2 separate regions of the Homo sapiens genome follow, and region 1 is linked to region 2. The links are contacts of gene promoters, found by promoter capture Hi-C in human tissues and cell types (Jung and others, 2019). All regions are on one chromosome and are shown on one strand. The core of a region is centred on a gene start or on the middle of the fragment in contact, and the rest is flanking DNA. Distances in the headings are between cores, read along the strand shown.

What was found. The method cuts DNA at HindIII sites, captures the fragments that hold promoters and counts their contacts. A contact is called where the count stands out against the background at its distance.
Region 1: a fragment that was not itself captured here is called in contact with the fragment with the promoter of RLN2 in region 2 in 1 of the 25 tissues and cell types used here (heart left ventricle).

The regions. Positions count from the first base shown.
Region 1 is chr9:5,170,316-5,173,015 of GRCh38, forward strand. The region is part of intron 1 of INSL6 (insulin like 6); the gene reads right to left. Among named protein-coding and RNA genes, the nearest start is that of INSL6, 14 kb to the right of the region's middle. The HindIII fragment of the contact is 3,731 bases long and covers 1-2,700 here.
Region 2 is chr9:5,303,258-5,305,982 of GRCh38, forward strand. It overlaps RLN2 (relaxin 2), which reads right to left and starts at 1,459. Exons shown (of 2, transcript NM_134441.3): 1 at 1,113-1,459. The coding sequence starts at 1,323. RefSeq lists an enhancer at 1,335-1,384. The HindIII fragment of the contact is 20,018 bases long and covers 1-2,725 here.

The sequences.
Region 1 (2,700 bases), core at 183-2,682, 130 kb before region 2:
AACAACGTATCAGAATCTCTGGGACATAGCTAAAGCAGTCTTAACAGGAAACTTTATAGCGCTAAATGCCCATATCAAAAAGGTAGATCTCAAATCAACACCCTAACGTCACAACCAAAAGAAGTAGAGAACCAAGAGCAAACAAACCCCAAAACTAGAGAAGAAATAACCAAGCTTAGAGCAGAACTGAAGGAGACCAGAGACACGAAAAACCCTTCAAACAATCAATGAATCCAGGGGCTTTTTTTTTTTTTGGAAAAACTAATAAAATAGACCACTAGGTAGGCTAATAAAGAAATGAAAGAAGAATCAAATAGACACAATAAAAAGGATAAAGGGGATATCACCACTGACCCCACAGAAATACAAACAACCATCAGATAATACTATAAACACCTCTATACCAATAAACCGGAAAATCTAGACACAATGGATAAATTCCTGAACACATACACCCCCACAAGACTAAACCAGGAAGAAGTTGAATCCCTGAATAGACTAATAACAAGTTCTGAAATTGAGGCAGTAATAAATAGTCTACCAACCAAAAAAAGCCCAGGACCAGATGGATTCACAGCTGAATTCTACCAAAAGTACAAAGAGGAGCTGATATTCTTTCTTCTGAAACTATTCCAAACAATCAAAAAGGAGGAACTCCTCCCTAACTCATTCTATGAGGCCAGCATCATCCTGATACCAAAACCTGACAGATACAACAACAAAAAAACTTCAGGCCAATATTCCTGAAGTACACCAATGTAAAAATCCTCAATAAAATACTGGCAAACCAAATACAGCAGCACATCAAAAAGCTTATCTGCCACGATCAAGTTGGCTTCATGTCCAGGGTGCAAGGGTGGTTCAAAATATACAAAATCAATAAATGTAATTAATCACATAAACATATCTAAAGACAAAAACCACAAGATTATTTCAATAGATGCAGAAAAGATCTTCCATAAAATTCAACATCCCTTCATGTTAAAAACTCTCAATAAATCAGGTGTTGATGGAGCATACCTCAAAATAATAGCCATTTATGACAAACCCACGGCCAAATATCATACTGAATGGGTAAAGCTGGATTCATTCCCTTGAAAACTGGCCCAAGTTAAGGATGCCCTCTCATCACTCCTATTCAACATAGTATCTGAAGTCCTGGCCAAGGCAATCGGGCAAGAGAAAGAAATAAAGGGTATTCAAATAGGAAGAGAGGAAGCCAAATTGTCTTTGTTTGCAGATGACATGCAAACATAGACACCCCATCTAGAACACACCATCATCTCTGCTCAAAAGCTTCTTAAGCTGATAAGCAAATTCAGCAAAGTCTCAAGATACAAAATCAACGTGCAAAGGTCACACACATTCCTGTATACCAAGAACAAGAAAGCAGAGAGCTGAATTATGAATGAACTCCTATTCACAATTGCTACAAAGAGAATATACCTATGAATACAGTTAGCGAGGAACATGAAGGACCTCTTCAAGGAGAACTACAAACCACTGCTCAAGGAAATAAGGGAGAACACAAACAAAAAAAAATTCCATGTTCATGGATAGGAAGAATCAATATCGTGAAAATGGCCATCCTGCCCAAAGTAATTTATAGTTTCAATGCTATTCCCATCTAACTACCATCGACATTCTTCACAGAACTAGAAGAAACTATTTAAAAAGTCGTATGGAACCAAAAGAGCTCAAACAGCCAAGACAATCCTAAGCAAAAAGAACAAAGCTGAAGGGAGGCATCACACTACTGGACTTCAAACTATACTACAAGGGTACAGTAACCAAAACAGCATGGTACTGTTACAAAAACAGACACCTAAACCAATAGAATTTCTGTTCCAGAACTCAGAAATAAGACCGCACATCTATGACCATCTGATCTTGGACAAACGTGACAAAAAATAGCAATGGGCAAAGGATCCGCTATTTAATAAATGGTGCTGGGAGAACTGGACCACTTCCCTACACCTTATAGAAAAATTAACTCAAGCTGAATTAAAGACTTAACTGTAAAACCAAAACTATAAAAACCCTAGAAGAAGATCTAGGCAATGCTATTCACAACATAGGTATGGGCAAAGATTTCAGGACAAAATCACCAAAAGCAATTGCAACAAAAGCCCAAATTGACAAATAAGATCTAATTAAACTAAAGAACTTCTGCACAGCAAAAGAAACTACCATCAGAGTGAACAGACAACCTACAGAGTGGGAGGAAATTTTTGCAATCTATCCATTTAACGAAGGTCTAATATCCAGAATCTACAAGGAACTTAAACAAATTTACAAGAAAAAACAAACAATCCGCTTAAAGAGTGGCCAGGCCAGGTGCAGTGGCTCACGCCTGTAATCCCAGCACTTTGGGAGGCCGAGGTGGGCAGATACCTGAGGTCAGGAATTCGAGACCAGTCTGGCCAATGTAGTGAAACCCTGCCTCTTCTAAAAGTACAAAAATTAGCTGGGCGTGGTGGTGTGTGCCTGTAGTCCCAGGTACTCGAGAGGCTGAGGCAGGAGAATTGCTTGAACCCAGGAGGCAGAGGCTGCAGTGAGCCGAGATCATGCCATTGCACTCTAGCCTGGGTGACAAAGCAAGACTCCACCTCAAAAGAAAAAAAAAAAGAGTGGGCAAAGGACATGAAAAGACATTTCTTAAAAGAAGGCATTCATGCAGCCAACAGACATTTGAAAAAA
Region 2 (2,725 bases), core at 209-2,708:
AGAGTCATTTATATATAGTATATGCATATAGCCTATAAAATTTAGTTGCGGTTTATCATAAATTACATGTCATACTAATACAAAACACTTAGTATTTGCAACTGCGGTTACTTTCTCTGAATTTAATATGACCCGTTACACTTCTTAGACTAGTATATACCTCCATGAGTTTCCACTGCTACTTTATAAATACTAAAATATTTTTAAAAGCCATTTCAGATTGAGCTGTACTCAACTCTAAGAGCTTGCCTTTAAAGCAAACCCACTGCAGCTTCCAAATGCTTGAAAGCATCAGTAGGGTCTTCAGCTATGATGGTCTGAACGGCCTGCTTTCCTTGTCTCTGGTCCTCTTGAGTTTCTCCTAAAGGCATTCAAGCCTTTCCTTTCTCTTCCATCCCCTGCCTCACAAATGAACTTCAATACCCAGATCAAAGAAGCGGGAGGTCAGACTCTTTCCTTTGGGATTTTCTGTTTGTTTATTTTAAAGAACGTTTCCAATGGCAAAGGCCACAGCCCAACTTCTGGACTAGGAGAGTCATTAAGTGTAAGGCCCTTCCTGTCTTCCCATCACGGGACCCTCACAGAGACCTCAGAGTGTTGCCCCGTCCTACAGGCGCGCAAACAGGCTTGATAACTAGCGCGCCGCCTCAGTGTTTGTCCCCTCTCCTCTCTATCCGAGAAGCCCTGTTCAGGTGCCCCCACCAGCACGCCCGCTGTCTGGCCGCCTGGCTTTCCTGTGGGGTGCAGGAGTGCGCCCGGCCTCCTGCGGGTCTCCGGGCGGCGTCACCTCCTCTGAGGCTTCCCCTCCCTTTCCACCCCGTCGCTCTGACTGCCTTACGGAAAGGGCACCAAGGAACTCTCGGGTGAAGCAGCTTCCTGTTCTCAGTGCTTTCCCTCCGTCCGGTGAGATTCCCAGTGAGACTGTTTGAATAAAATCACCTGGCAAAGGAAAAGCCCAAACTTTAGGGACCAGCCACGGCTGAGTAGGGGCTGAGCGGTGGCAGCCAATGAGATCTCGAGTCGGACGTGCAGGCCGCCGTTCCAATTGGGCGGCCGCCCCAGAGTAACCAATGGGAAGCGCGGGAAGGCCGGGAGGGGGCGGGAGCTCTCACCTGCCACTGGTCTAGGTGTCTGAGGAGCATCTTCCTGGCTCAGAGACCTTTTGCTCCAGGTGCTCATGCCGCAAATGGCAATCTGCGCGCGAACTAATTCGCGGCCGCATAATTTAATAACTTCCTCCATCCATGAGTCCGCGACTGCTCTGGAAAATTGGTTCAGTAGTAAACAGACTCCTAGCAGGTGGAAAAAAAACAGGCGAGGCATCCTGGGCCTGGTCTCTCCTGGAGGTCGGGACGTTGCAGCCTTTCAGGACTGCAGCTGCTGTGGCCTACACACCTGGGCCTGTGTGCCTGTCCCGGGCTTTAGGCTGCTTTCCCTACCCGGCTCAAGCGGTCTTTTGTATCCCTTGGGCTATCACTCAGCTTTTAAGGCAAGGGTGCCAGCTCCACCCCTTTCCCACACCCCTCCACAGAATTTTCCCCCTCAGCTCTTGGTCTCCCTCTCTGCCTTTCCTTCATTTGCCCATCCCTCTGTCCTTGGCCCTTTTACAGTTGTGTTCTTCTCATTCATTACCCTCAAACAATTTAGTATACTGAGGTAAAGTCATTTTAGATATGAAGCCTTTCCTTTTACACACACAGAAACAAATTTGAGATCACCCATATTCTTACAACTCAGTTTTCTAGAGTGAACATTTGCCAAAAAACCCTTCTAACCTAAATAAGATTATAGATTATCTTGTAAATTGGGTTAATTAGTATAGTGTTGGGTATATCAATCCATAAAAATATAAAAATAGAATGGATGAATAAATAAATTGTTGATGACAGGGAAAACTGATGACTTTTAATCTGAATGCAGGTAAAAACATTAAAATCCCCAGTAACATCATGTTAGGCTTGTGCAGTAATGTCTTTAATTTACAAAACAATTTCTCCATTGCACTTTCCTTCCACTCTTGGGGATAAATTTGATTGTAACTAGTTATCTGAACATTTTAATTTAAAATTCTAATCTACATCTCTGGAGACTGGAGAACATACCACACACACACACACACACACACACACACACACACACACACACAGAGAGAGAGAGAGAGAGAGAGAGAAGAAAAAAAAGCAGTGGAAATCCCACAATCCCACAAAGAATATTTTGGTAACAAATTACAGCACAAAGATATGTTTGTTTGTTTACTGTATTTTGTGTTTGCTGCACCTGGTAAGAGGTGATTTTTTACCATCATTTAATTTAACTTTCTAAAGATCCACACTGTTCTAGGTAATATGGTTAGTAGACAACCCTTCTACCTGTAAATTTTTAGTACAAGTAGGTTCATTTTTTAAAATAACTTACTTGCTTGTGTTCATAATATACTCAGATTAGTTCAGCTCCATCAGATAAACTGGAGACATGCAGGACATTAGGGTAGCTTTGAAATAAAAGAATAACAATCTCTTAGTTACAAACATAACTATGGAATCAAATAATTCTAATTTCTAGATTGCTGGTGATGTCAGTAGGCCCACTTAGCATTGGTCAAATGCCAAGCAATGTGTAATTCTTCAAAAAATACCTGACCAAGACTATGAGATGGTCAGATGCAATCAATGCTTTTAAATGAGTTTTCATTAAAACACGCAGTTTGAGAGAGGCCTCTCAAAAC